Linked DNA regions of Homo sapiens: all the other regions are linked to region 1. Evidence: promoter capture Hi-C in human tissues and cell types (Jung and others, 2019). All regions are on one chromosome and are shown on one strand. Each heading gives the region's core, a stretch centred on a gene start or on the middle of the fragment in contact. The rest is flanking DNA. Distances are from core to core; before and after follow the strand shown.

Region 1 (4,557 bases), core at 989-3,488:
AATACATAAATAAATACTATGTAAAGCACATCAGAAAGCTAACCTTGACCTTAAGATCATGGGTGTGAAACACTGAACTATAGTGAAATATACTCCACATTTAGGTAGTCCTTTAGAGCTTTTTTATTTTTTCATAATTTTAAAATTTTTAATTTACTGTAGAGACGACGTCTCACTATGTTACCCAGGCTGGTCTTGAGCTCCTGGCCTCAAGTGATCCTCCTGCCTTGGCCTCCCAAAGTGCTGGGGTTACAGGTGTGAGCCACCGCACCTGGCCCTTTAGATCTTTCAAAGCAATTTTACATCAGCAATTCTATCCTCACTTTACAGAGGAAACTGAAGCTCAGAAAGGTGAAGTTAATTGCTCAAGGTCACATAGCAAGGAGTTAATGGCACAAGGCTAGGTCCAATTCAGGCTCTGGCCTGGGATCCCCTCTTCTGGGGGTGATGGGAGGAGGGTCTAGAAAAGATGGGCATCATCCACTTTTCTTTCAACCCAAACTTCATCTGTAAAATGGGACCAACAATCCTCTTCGCAGGGAAGAGCTAAACTGAATGGAGGAAGGGGAGCTTCATCAGGGCTTCCTAACCTGGCCTCTTAGCGGGGGCTTTAGGTGGTAAAATTTTATGACAGCGAGTGCATTCTTGTGGCTTAGACTGCTTGGCTAGGAATCTTGACTTCAGGATCTGTCACTGTGTTTTAACGCCTGAGCCTCAATTCGTTTGTAAAATGGAGCAGTTAGGATTAAAAGAAATAATCAAGGCACCAAGTAGTGTCAGTAGAAGGTAGCTGTTATTTATTGTTCTATTCTGGGGTAAAGGTATCAGATTCTCAAAGGGATTCTTAATCTAGAAAGTTTGCGAAGAGATGGCAAAGGTGTTTGAAAGCTATCAGGAAACCATCCTCGCGTAAAACGAAGCAGCGCTACAGAAGTGGGCTGCCATGGGAATCGGGAGGCCCAGGTTCCACTGCTAACTTGCTGCAGCTTACTGGGTGATCTGTAAATAAAAAGGGAGGTGGCGGTGGTCCGAGCTGGCAGCCGCAATGCAGCCCCAGGTAGATCTAGGGGCAAACGGTAAAGGCGCTCCGAGGAAGGGCGAGCGCGCAGCCTCTGGGAGACTACACCTCCCAGGCTGCCTTGCGCACCGTGCTGCACCCTACGCTAGCACGCGAGCCTCCCCGTTCCCCCACCCTCCAGTTACTGTCTCTCGCGAGAAGACGGGCCGCGCCGGCGATAGCGATTCCGAGCGAGTGGTGGTGGTAGTGGTGGTGGTGGCGGCCGAGACGGCGGCGGCCATTTTGGTGAGGCCTCGGGAGCGGCAGCGGCGGTTCGCTGGGAGTAGCGTCTGCCCTTTTTCCCACCCACCGTCCGCATCTGTGTGCTGCGCGAAGAGGCAGTGGAGGCAAGGCGGTGGCAGTAGCCGCAGTCTCCAGGGGAGTTTAAAGGCCGCGAAGGCGGTGGCCAAGAGGGGGCCCTCCCCCCTCCTAGGCGGGAGGGGGGGTGGTGCGCACGCCCCCGAGGACGCAGGTAAGGAGAGGGAGACAAGATGGCGAACGCCCCACAGTTCCCCCTCCCATGACGGCTGACTGCGCGCGCATCTTTCCGCCACCGCCTCCCCCCCACCTTCCCGGGGTGCTGCGCGCGCACCCTCAGCCGGGGCCCCGGGGCCGGTGCGCGAGGCTGTCGGCGCGCGCCCATAGAGACAGACTGAGGGGGTCAGGCCGGCCGGCGCTGGGCCCCGGCGTGTCTCCTCTCCCTTCCCGCCCTTCTGCGCACGCGTGCCTGAGCGAGCGAGCGAGCGAGCGAGCCCTGAGAGGACGGACCCAGGTGCGCTCCTGCCCGCCCACCAACCCAGTCACCCCTCAGGGGCGCGCGGGAAGAGGAAGGGGGGCGTGGGACGAGTAGTCGGGGCGCGCGCCCACCACATCTAGCCGGGGGACCAGGACCTGGTGGCACGAACCCTCCCTTCTCTCAGCCTTTCGCGGTCGGGTGATGGGGGGGCTCCCTGACGGGCTTGGATGACGAGCTTCCCAGCCCCGCGACCCTTGTGTGCGTGGGCTCGGGTTCTGGCGGGAGCCCCTGGGCCGTGCGCGCAGCCGGCTCGCTCCGCCTCCAGCCGCGCACGCGCGGGCCCCTCCCCCGCCCGGCGCGCACGTTGGGTGGGGTGGGAGTCTGGAGGGGGCGGGGCTATCTCAGGGCTAGTGGCAACTTGGGCAGAGGTCAGGGGTCACGCGAGGTCAGTCCGTCGGGAGGGCTAGGGAGATGGTCACGAAACCTGAAGTCAAGAGTTAAGGCTTGTTGGCTTCTGGTGAGCTCGGGTCTTGGGAACGTGTGGCGGAGTAGGGAGTGAATCAAAGCCGGCACTGTGGTTTAGGAATTTCCTTAAACACTGGGGAAGCATTTCCGGGCCTCCTGCGGGTTCACACTGCCTGTTTCCGGCGCGTGGTTCTTGGCAGTGCGGCCTCTCGCTTTTGACTGCTCCTGAGTCTCCTTTTGCTGTGGTTCTTGTATTTGGGGAAGTGTCTCAAGGCGCAGGTATGGGATATACAGCGCCCTGCCCTGAATCCTGGGCGGATTTTCCTGTGACCAGCCTGTTTGTTGACTCTTCCCGGGAGTTCCACTCTCACTTCTGCGTTCAGCCCTCACTGGAAAGGCCCGCAGGCAGGTAGCACCTTTCTGAGGTTCTGGATGTGACAGCTTTTTTTTGCTGTATTTTTTTTTTGTCTTCCATTCTGTGGTTGGAGCCTTTACACTTAAAATTTTTGAACTTTCTTTCTTCACTCCTTTCCTGCTCCTGCCCCCAGGCAGGATCGTATGTCCCTCCGGAATTCACAAAACATGATTTGCATTTCCCTGAAATGTGAGATTTTCCTACTACTGTAGTTTTTCTGTTTCTAGTCTTTTAACTGATTTGGGTATATTTAAACGTCTCAAAAAACTGGAGTAAATAATACGCTTTGATGGATGTTTCAGGTGTGATTCCCTTCAGTACGGCGGCACCGTGGAAGTGCAGACTTTCACAGGGGGTGTGGTCTCAGCTCACACAGGTGAGGGATCTGCTACCATTTTGTGTGCTGATGCTAATGGGAGAAATGTTTGAGATAAAGCAATTATAGGTCCGTATTGGGGATTTTCACTCTAGAGAAGCATGGGAATGTTTGCATGTGATTTTTCTGTAGAGGGTTTGATTATAGTACAACAACAGAACTGAGGCTGTGGGTTGAGGAAAACGTGGTCAACCTGGCTCTACCAGGAAGAGTAGCAGGTTTTCCTTGGTTTTGGCATCAGACTGTGGATTGAAGCCCTCCTATCACTTTTTTACTGTGTAACCTTCCGCAAATCATAAGGTCTTAACTTCGTAACTTACAAAACAGATTATATTAGAATGTAAGCTACATTTAGGTCGGGAATCCTTTCTGCATGGCTATATCCGTTGTGTGTAGGAGGAAGTCAATATTTGTTATGCTGTGAAAAGCACTTGGTTTTTAAGGTAGGTGTGAGGATTATAGAACACATCAAACAGGTACTAAAAGTATCTTATACATAGTAAGTGCTCAAGAAATGTAACCTGTAATTTCTGTGTTTCTCTTTATTCAGTGTTATTTCTGGTTTTTTAAAAATACTTTTTCATCCCCTTTAACTGCATTTCTGTCTTTTTTTTTTTTTTTAACCCTACTTTAGGTGCTCCAGAGGCTGGTGGACCTGAGCGGAGGCTGGGACGCCCTGGTGGGCCCCGGGCCCTGGAAGGCGGGTCCCGGTGGCCGGTGGCCCAGAATGAGGCCAGCTCCCAGCATGCCCTGCAGCCGGACGCCAGCCCCTCGGCCAGCAGTACTGGTGATAACAACCCAGTCATTCTTCAGGCATCCAAGGGGGAGCCTGGGAGTGGGACCATGCAGAGCAGCCCCTCCCCTGCTCACCCTCAGCTCCCAGTCCTACAGACACAGGTTTGAAAGTGGGAAGAGTTCCTTCTCTGCTTCTGCTTTGTGGATTGTTGAGTGTGAGGCAGAAGAAATGTGGCAGGGGAATATTTGTGGAGAGTTTTGGAGAATCTTTGGTGCTCGGGGGCTGGGCTGTAGTATATCAGGTCTGTTGGATACTCACATTCCATTTAACATTAGTGTAATATTATCTCCAAGAGTGTAAAAGCGCCTCGTTACCTGAAAAAGGTTGAATTAGGCTAGGCTGGAAATGGAGGTCGTGGCACCATGCTTCTAATACCATACGCTTTAAGAATAGTTTAACTTCTATCAGTACTGGAGTAGGATAAGCCTATGGATGGTGTGTAGTGTTCATTCCTTTCTCATACCAAGGAAGGGTGTGGGGTAGGAAAAAAAGCATGACTTTTAAACACATCTAGGTGTGTGTACAGTCAGCTTTCTATTTTAATTTTTTAAATTTTTCTATAAAAAGGGTTTCTTTATTGTGTCATCCTTGCACAGGGGCCATGCTAATCTTTTCTGTATCCTCCCAGTTTTAGTATATGTGTTGCCAAAGTGAGCAGTACAGTAAGCTTTTCATGTTTGTAAAGTTGGTATTTATAGTTTTCCTGAGAAAC
Region 2 (4,557 bases), core at 683-3,182, 220 kb before region 1:
TCTTTGGCCTTTGCTTTCTTTAGGCCTGTGACCCTGGGCTGTCTCGAACGTGTGACCAGAACACCTATCTGAGTGGCCTGTGTTACCTCTTCCGCCAGAATCTGCAGGGTCCCATGCTGCAGGGGCGCCCTGGTTTTCAGGGTAAGGAACTGGGGACTCATTGGGTAAAAATACCTCCAAATGGCTGTCCCTAGAGAGAACCAGCATGGGCAGGTCAAACACCAGAGATGCTTCACTGGGTCCCTTGCGTCTGGCTTCTGCAGAATGTATCAAGGGCAACGTAGACCTGGTATTTCTGTTTGATGGTTCGATGAGCTTGCAGCCAGATGAATTTCAGAAAATTCTGGACTTCATGAAGGATGTGATGAAGAAACTCAGCAACACTTCGTACCAGGTAAAAAAGTTAGTTAGGATTCTTGGTTGCATGCAATAGATGCCTACCTGAACTGACTTAAACCATGAAAGGAAATGTTAGTATGTGGAATCCTCAGAGCCTATGGGCATGGCTATAACTGGGCCTCTGGAAGGGACAAGAACCAGGGAGTAGAAAGCTTCTAGGAGTCTCTCTAGTTCTCATTTCCTTTTTTTTTTTTTTTTTTTTTTTTTTTTTGAGATGGAGTTTTGCTCTTGTTGCCCAGGCTGGAGTGCAATGGCACAATCTCGACTCACTGCCTCCCAGGTTCAAGCAAGTCACCTGCCTCAGCCTCCCAAGTAGCTGGTATTACAGGCAACTGCCACTACACCCAGCTGATTTTTGTATTTTTAGTAGAGATGGTGTTTCACCATGTTGCCAGGCTGGTCTTGAACTCCTGACCTTGTGATCTGCCCACCTTGGCCTCCCAAAGTGCTGGGATTACAGGCGTGAGCCACCGTGCACAGCCATTTTTTCTTTTTGAGACAGGGTCTCACTGTGTCCCCAAGGCTGGAATCATGGTGGCACGATCATAGCTCACTGTAGCCTCAAACTCCTGGGCTCAAATGATCCTCCCAACTAGCTGGGACTACCCATGTGCACCACTGTGCGTGGCTAATTTTTAAATTTTCTGTAGAGATGGTTTATCATTGTGTTGCCCAGACTGGTCCCAAACTCCTGGATCTCTCAAGAGATCCTCCTGCCTTGGCCTCCCAAAGTGCTGGGATTACAGGCATGAGCCACTGTGCCCAGCTAGTTCTCATTTCTGTTTCTTTTTGCGTCTTTGCTTCCTTCTTCTCTTTTCTCAGTCTCCGTAGACTGGCTCCCTTAGCGCCTTTAGACCACATAGACCTATGGAAAGCTCCTAAGTTCATGTGTTAAAGTTCCAAGAGGGTTTTTTACCTTCCCCTCAACCAACACCTCCCTTTGCAAATTTCCAGTTCTCAGAGAAGAGGTTCTGGCTGGCGTAGCTTCAGTCAGGTGTTGATCCCCGGCCCAGCCAACTGTATCTAGTTAAGCAGCGTCACTCAGCAGAAATATGGCTGCTGGAACCCATCCCTATCAGTGACATAGGTGGACCCAGAAAACAGGAGCTCAACACACAGTGTTACATGAGGGAGCAAGGTTTATTTCATTTTATTTCTGTGTTTATTTGTATATTGCCTCATTTTCAAAAGAATTATCTGAGGCAAGGATGTGGAGTTGGGTTGCCCAGGTCCTGCATAAGAAGAGATTGAGCCAGGCATAGTGGCTCACACCTGTAATCCCAGCACATTGGGAGGCTTAGCCGGGAGGATCACTTGAAGCCAGGAGTTCGAGACCAGCCTAGGCAACATAGCAAGACCCCATTTCTACAAAAAATAAAAACTAGCCAAGTGTGGTGGCACGTGCCTGAAGTCCCAGCTACTTCGGAGGCTGACGAGGGAGGATGGCTCGAGCCTGGGAGGCTGAGGCTGCAGTGAGCTATGATTGTGACCGTGCACTCCAGCCTGGGAGACAGAACAAGACCCTGTTTTGAAAAAGAAGAAGTAGAGTTTGGGGCTGGGCACGGTGGCTCATGCCTGTAATCCTAGCACTTTGGGAGGCTGAGGCAGGTGGATCACCTGAGGTGAGGAGTTCGAGACCAGCCTGGCCAATATGGTGAAACACCGTCTCTACTAAAAACACACACACACACACACACACACACACACACACACACACCACACACACACAAATATTCGGGTGTGGTGGCACGTGCCTGTAATCGCAGCTACTTGGGAGGCTGAGGCATGAAAATCGCTGGAACCCGGGAGGCAGAGGTTGCAGTGAGCCAAGATTGTGCCAGTGCACTCCAGCCTGGGCAACAAGAGCGAAACTCCATCTAAAAAAAAAAAAAAAAAAAAAAGAAGTAGAGTTTGGAACAGACAAATGGAAAGGGATATATAACTGAATGTCATTTCTTCCTTCCTTTTCTAGTTTGCTGCTGTTCAGTTTTCCACAAGCTACAAAACAGAATTTGATTTCTCAGATTATGTTAAACGGAAGGACCCTGATGCTCTGCTGAAGCATGTAAAGCACATGTTGCTGTTGACCAATACCTTTGGTGCCATCAATTATGTCGCGTGAGTTCCCTTTTGCAGGAGAGCACGTGTCCTGTGATTTGTTCTGGGTGATCTACCCACTTCCAGCTGCAGGGCATGGGAACTCAGTAGGTAGGTACAGCAAGGGGCAGTTTATTGTCTGAATTGAAGTGGAACAATTTTACTGCAGATTCTTTTGGTTGTACGTAACAGAAATCTACTCTGTACTAATTAAATCCAAGAGAAAGTCTAAGCCAGGTGCACAGTCTGTAATCCCAGGGCTTTGGGAAGCTGAGGCAGGAGGATCTTTTGAGCCCAGAAGTTTTTGTTTGTTTGTTTGGTTTTTGGTTTTTGTTTTTGTTTTTTGAGATGGAGTTTCGCTCTTGTTGCCCAGGCTGTAGTGCAATGGCATGATCTCGGCTCACTGCAACCTCCACCTCCCAGGTTCAAGCCATTCTCCTGCCTCCGCCTTTCAAGTAGCTGGGATTACAGACCTGTGCCACCACGCCTGGCTAATTTTTTTTGTATTTTTAGTAGAGATAGGCTTTCACCATGTTGGCCAGGCTGGACTCAAACTCCTGACCTCAGGTGATCCACCTGCCTCACCCTCCCAAAGTGCTGGGATTACAGGTGTGAGTCACCACACCTGGCCTATGAGCCAGGAGTTTGAAGCTGCAGTGAGCTATGATCACACCATTGCACTCCAGCCTGGACAACAGAGCAAGATCTTAACTCTAAGAAATTAAAAATAAATTAAAAAAGAAGAGCCAGGACACCAATGTGGCCGGAGAGAAATAAGTGAGGGGGGAAAATAGTAGGTGATGAGGTCAGAGAGATCATGAGGGTCTGGATGGGTTAGTGACTTGGAGACCATAGTGAGGACTTTGGCTTTCCTCTGAGTAAGATGAGAAGTCATTAGAGGTTTTGAGTAGAGGAGTGATGATCTATGTTTTTTAAAAGATCCCTCTGGCTGCAGGGTTGATATTAGACTGTAGAGGGGGCAAGGGCGGGTGGAAGTGATAGGGCCAGTTAGAAGGCTACTGAAAAATCCAGATGAGAGACAATGGTTGTATAAACCAGGGTGGAAATCCATGAACAGGACCCGCAATAGGCCCATGTCTGTGTGGATGGAGATTGGAGAAGCATTTTGCATCCAAGATAGAACCAGAGGTCTTGACAGCAGGTGTTCATGGGTAAGACGGTTCACACCTTGCTGCTGTTCCAGCAAGAGCTATGGCCAACCCAACTTGCTCAGAGGAAGGCTGTGGGCAAAACAGGAATTTTCTTTTTCTTTTTTTTTTAGAGTCAAGGTCTCACTCTGTTGCCCAGGCTGGAGCGCAGTGACGTGATCCTAGCTCACTGCAGCCTCAAACTCCTGGGCTCAAGCGATCCTCCTGTCTCAGCCTCCTGAGTAGTTGGGACTACAATCACACACCACCATGCCTGGCTAATTGTTTTCATCTTTGTAGAGTTGGAGTCTCGCTATGTTGCCCAGAATGGTCTGGAACTCCCAGGGCAGAAATTTTTAGCCTTGGCCCATCTGGTGTTCAGTTCTCCCTTCTTTATTTTATTTTTTTAATTTTTTTGAGGGTGGAGGATTTTAGCAAAAAACAGAAAGCCTGCTAGACAAATTCTAAAAGAGCTGTAACACTAGTTCTCCCTCCTTCATCTCACATGCACAACCGCCTCCTTTGTGCTGGGAGCCAGAGATACAGCAACAAATCCAACATGGTCCTTTCCTTGAGGAACTCATGGTTTAGGGGGAAAATTGACAGAGAAATGAGTCACGGTAATTCACTAGGTTCACTGCTATGGTAGAGATCCGGAGGCAGCCTGTGGACTATGGGAAGGCAGAGGAGGTGCTGGAAGAGCTTGCTCTGGAAGAGTGACTCCCCAGTTTTCTTCAGCTGTAGGACCCTCTCTTCCACATTGAAATCTCACTTGGATCAATATCTGTAGCTGATTAAAGAGTGGTGGCCATGTGGTTGCAATGGAGGGTAGGAAGCCCAGAGTCATTCCTCACAAAACCTCCTCCTCCTGTCCATGGGCTCTGGGACACCCTCTGGACTGCCCAGGATGCAG
Region 3 (4,557 bases), core at 1,536-4,035, 170 kb before region 1:
CCAGCCTGGGTGACAGCGTAAGACTCCGTCTCAAAAAAAAGAAAAAAAAAAAAAGAAACAAATAGCACTTCCAGCCAGGTGCGGTGGCCTGCTGCAACACAGCAAGACCCGCTTTCTAACAGCAGCAACAGCAAAGCACTTCCCGGATAAGGCCCTAGGCTACTACTGGTGTCTCCCACTTCCCAGGGCGCTGTGCACGCACACATTTTAAGGACAAGTCTCGTTTACCACATAAAGTTTTTATTGAACTCAAACTCAGGGGCTCCAAAGCCTGAGGAAGAAGAGGGAGGCTGGGGTTTGCACGCAGAGGCCCAGGCCCCACCCCGGGGCCCCACTCCCCACCCCACCTACCTTTTACCCGCTCCTGACTCAACGAGAGTTTCAGCAGCTACCAATCTAAGCTAACCCACTCTAATTAGGTAATCCCCTGCCCTCCCCCCTCCCTGCTCTAGCAGTTGCCAAGCCAGGCACCCACCAAGGAGCCGCGGCTGAGGCCAGCCCTCCGCTGACCTCTCTCCATTTCTCCCAGGGCCTCCCGCTGCCGGCCTGGCCTCCCTCCAACCCACTTCCCACAAGTCTCCAGGGCATGTCACTTCCTCCACCCTGGTTCTCTTCTTCCAGCATCCTCAGCTCCTCCATTCTCCTGCGGCTTCTCCACTATCCTCCCTAAAGGTTCCTCTAGCTCCCTGGCCCCTTATCTTCTGCCCACACCTCCCACCCCTGCTGGGGCCCCAGGTCAGCGCCGGCCCGCCGCGTGGGTCCGCTGGTGGCGGATGAGGTCGGAGCTCTGGGAGAAGGCCTTTCCGCAGTCATCGCACTTGTAAGGCCGCTCGCCACTGTGGACCCGGTGATGCTGCAGAAGCGTGGAGGAGCGGCAGAAGCCCTTGCCGCACACGGCGCACCTGTAGGGCCGCTCGCCCGTGTGGGAGCGCTGGTGCTGGATGAGAGTGGAGGAGCGATTGAAGGTCTTGCCGCAGTCGGGGCAGCTGTAGGTGCGGCCTGGCAGGTGGGTGCGGGCGTGGATGGCCAGCACCGAGCTCTGGCCAAAGCGCTTGCCGCACTCAGGGCACTTGAAGGGCTTCTCCCGGGCGTGGCTGCGGGCATGGGGGATAAGGGCCGACCGCTGGGAGAAGCTCTTGCCGCAGATGCCACAGCTGAAGGGCCTCTGACCGGTGTGCACCCTCTGATGGCTGCGCAGGGACGAGTTCTGGCTATAGCACTTGCCGCACTCGGTGCAGCTGTAGGGCCGCTCGTGGCTGTGGGTGCGCTGGTGTCGCAGGAGGTAGGAGCTGTCGCCGAAGGCCTTGCCACAATGTGGGCACTTGTAGGGCTTCTGGCCAGAGTGAGTGCGCTGGTGGCGAAGCAGGTAAGAGCTGTCGGCGAAGGCCTTGCCGCAACGGGGACATTTGTAGGGCCGCTCGCCAGTGTGGGTGCGCTGGTGTTTGATGAGGTCAGAGCTCTGGGAGAAGGCCTTGCTGCAGACCTCACATTTGTAGGGCTTCTCACCGGTGTGGATGCGCTGGTGCTGGATCAGGGTGGAGCCCCGCCCGAAGCTCTTCCCGCAGATGCCACAGATGTTAGGCCGAGGGCCCTGCCCACCCCTGGCCCGGCCACCCCGCCGACCTGGACCTCGAAGGGCTCCTGTGAGACCCAGGGGATTCTGAAGCATCTCAAACTGCGGTGTAGACAGCAGGGCCCCTGTGGGCATCTCAAAAGGTGGCCCTATGGGCAGGTCCCCTGTGGGCTGCTCCCCAAACCCCTGAGTGAAGGAGTCCAGGGGGTGAACTCCTACGGAGATATTCAAAGGACTCTTTTCCTCGGGGTTCAGAAGCATCTCCGCACCTTCCTGGAATTTGGAACTTTGAGCTTCAAATTCTGGGCTTTGGGTTTTGAGCTCAGTGTTCTGGGATTCATATCTAGAGCTCTCAGATTCATAGCCAGGGCTCCGGGGTTCATACCCGGGGCTCCGAGGTTCATAGCCAGGGCTTTGGGGTTCATACCTAGGGCTCTGGGATTCAAACTCAGGGCTCTGAGAATCTGATTCAGGGCTTCTGGGTGCAAACTCAGGGCTTGGGGGCACAAGCCCAGGGCTTCGGGACTCAAACCCCGGGCTTTCAGGCTCAAATCTGGGGCTTTGGGGTTCAAACTCTGGGCTTTGTGGCTCAAACCCAGGGCTCTGGGGTTCAAGCCCAAATGGTATCTCTTCGACTTCATAGTCCCCACTGCCTTCTTGCTGAGAAATTTCCTCTTCCTCATTCTCACTCATGTTGCCTGCAGGATGAGAGAATCCAGATCGTGTGAGACCTGGAAGGTCATTTGGTCCATTAGCAACCACACACCTCCCACCTCACATGCAGGGTCGCTGGCCCCTAGACAAGTGCTGAAATTCCCACGCCCCCCTCAGCTGACCCAAGACACCCCAGTCCCCGCCGGCCCCTCCTTCGAGTCCCAGGTGTCCCAGCCCCGGGCCCTCGCTCCCTCCCTGGAGCCACAGCCCCTTCTCCTGCGCGCAAGTCCACTCCTCGGACGGGCGCTCCCTCCTCACCTCTGAGGTACCCTTCGGGGCTCCTCATTTCGTCAGAACTCTGCACATCCTGGGGCTCGAGGCCCCACGGCAACGCCTCCCGCTCCATCCCCGCGGGCTCCCAGTGCAGCGGCGGCGGCGATGGCGGCCGATCCCGCGACCCGGCCTCGGTTGCCCCGAGCCGCGGGCCCCCGCCTCCCGCCCGCTCAGCGCCGCCCAGGGGACTCGGCGGCCCAGCCCGGGCCCCCGAGGCCGGACGTCTTGACCCCGCGCCTCTCCAGCGCGCCGGGCCCCTCCCCTGCCCGCGGCCCCGCCCCCTCCCAAGGTCTCGGCCTCCCCGTGGCCCTCACTGGCCCCCGCGCGTCGCGGCCTCGGGGATGAGGGGCTTCGCGACTACCCCGGCGGCCCCCGGCCCCCGCTCCCGCCCGAGCCCCCACCTTCTGGACCCCGGCCCCGGGCTGGGCTGCACTGTCCAACGGCCGCCCAGCACCCCCCCACCCTCCCCCGCACAGGAAGTGTCCGTCCGCGGCCAGGTCCCCCCGCCGGCTCGCGCCGCGGCCTCTCTAGGAGCCGCTGGAGGTGGAAACTCGTTGGCATTAACCCTGGGCTGGAGGGGCCCGGCCACGGGGTGGGTGAGGACCGGACGCCCCGGAGCCCGCGGGGCTACCGGGGCAGTGTGTGTGCCTATGTTCTAGGTCTCCGTCCCTCCAGAGGCCCGTCTGTCCATCTCCCGGGCCCCGCGTCGTCGGTGCGTGTGGCCAAGGGCGAGGCGACAAGCGAGACCAAGGTCAGCGAGAAGGAGCGACGCTTCCCGGCGCCAGCGGGGGCGGTGTCTCGCTCCCTCCCCTCCCGGGCCTCCGGGTCAGCTCCGGCAGCGCCTCGGGAACCGGGACGGACTCCCCTTGGCCTCGCCGAGGTCCTTGAGCCTGGGACCCCCTCCAGGAACTCCGCTCCCCGGCACCTGCGCGCGCCCGCTCCCGTTCCTCCGGCCCCCACCCAGCTCGGCTCCCCTGATCCTCCTCCTCCCTCCTCCCTCCTCGAGGGCTAGGATAGTTGCCAAGGAGACAGCCCCGCCCCGGCTCCCAGAGGCACAGCTTCTCCGCCCCAGGAAGCCCGGCGGTTGGCCGATGGGGCTCGTGCTCTAGCCGCCCCGCCTCCTCCAACCCCGCGGACGGCTGGGCGTTAATGGTCGCCAGGGAACGCCAGGCGCCTTCCTGATTGGCCGGGAGTGCTGTGGTCGGGTCCGCCTCCCCTGTCGGCCAGAAGCGCCTTCAGGAGGTAGTGGGAGGGAGGTGCCAGGCATCTCCCCTCCAGCCCGGCCTGTGCCATCAAAACTTTTCCCGCCCCCACTTAGCCTCCATTATGTTTTATGAAAGCCAGAAGATCTGAGGACAGACACCCTTCCTCCTCGTCAGCCTCACACCCCTTGCCTCTCCCCTCCACCTTCCCCAGCGCCTGAGTTTAACTCAATCCCTGGCAGCCTTAGTCCCTGTTGTTAGATTTCCTCACAGGGAGGCAGGATTCCTTCCAGGTGAGGGTGATACAAAGGAGAATTGGACTGAGAGAACCATCTGGCCTTCGAGGCATCTAACAACTCTCCAGTCTTGTCTGACTCGAATGGAGTCTTGCAGAGGAAGGGAACCTGAGAAACACTGCCTCGGGCGCAGCTTTGAATTGAGGAAGTGAGCCTGGACAGACAACTTAATATCATCCAGTTCTTGTCTTTTTTTTCTACGCTTCGTGCTGAAACAAGTTTGGCAGCGTTCTTGACAGTTAACGAGCCCGATGCCCCTGTGTGAGCAGGAGCCATGGATCGTGTTTTCTTGTCGCCTACCCAGACAAATGAAGGGAAGAGAATGTTTGGGAGGAAGGATGGCCTCTCCTTCCTGAAAAGAGGTGAGAACAAGAACTTGAAGAATGCCAAGTGGTAAAAAGTGGAGAGAAACTATCTAAATAAAGGCTTACAGGTGGGGCGCACTGGCTCATGTCTGTAATCCCAGCACTTTTGGGAGGCCAAGGCAGGTGGATCACGA

What was found. Contacts are between HindIII fragments. The study calls those that stand out against the background at their distance.
Region 2: a contact is called between a fragment that was not itself captured here and the fragment with the promoter of SRCAP in region 1, in 1 of the 25 tissues and cell types used here (stomach).
Region 3: a contact is called between the fragment with the promoter of ZNF768 here and the fragment with the promoter of SRCAP in region 1, in 1 of the 25 tissues and cell types used here (dorsolateral prefrontal cortex).

What each region holds. Positions count from the first base shown.
Region 1 is chr16:30,696,933-30,701,489 of GRCh38, forward strand. SRCAP (Snf2 related CREBBP activator protein) reads left to right here and starts at 2,239. Exons shown (of 34, transcript NM_006662.3): 1 at 2,239-2,310; 2 at 2,976-3,049; 3 at 3,684-3,946. The coding sequence starts at 3,893. LOC730183 (a long non-coding RNA gene) reads right to left here and starts at 2,128. Exons shown (of 2, transcript NR_144637.2): 1 at 1,949-2,128; 2 at 775-999. It also overlaps the pseudogene RNU6-1043P. RefSeq lists enhancers at 1,050-1,139, 1,170-1,359, 2,016-2,310 and silencers at 1,480-1,889, 2,030-2,259. The HindIII fragment of the contact is 12,049 bases long and covers 1-4,557 here.
Region 2 is chr16:30,479,068-30,483,624 of GRCh38, forward strand. ITGAL (integrin subunit alpha L) reads left to right here. Exons shown (of 31, transcript NM_002209.3): 5 at 24-141; 6 at 264-394; 7 at 2,372-2,517. It also overlaps the pseudogene RNU7-61P. Among named protein-coding and RNA genes, the nearest start is that of ITGAL, 8.6 kb to the left of the region's middle. The HindIII fragment of the contact is 3,748 bases long and covers 59-3,806 here.
Region 3 is chr16:30,523,781-30,528,337 of GRCh38, forward strand. It overlaps ZNF768 (zinc finger protein 768), which reads right to left and starts at 2,786. Exons shown (of 2, transcript NM_024671.4): 1 at 2,546-2,786; 2 at 224-2,271. The coding sequence starts at 2,633. The coding sequence ends at 737. RefSeq lists enhancers at 2,232-2,291, 3,872-4,171 and silencers at 2,492-2,541, 2,562-2,881, 2,972-3,801. The HindIII fragment of the contact is 23,531 bases long and covers 1-4,557 here.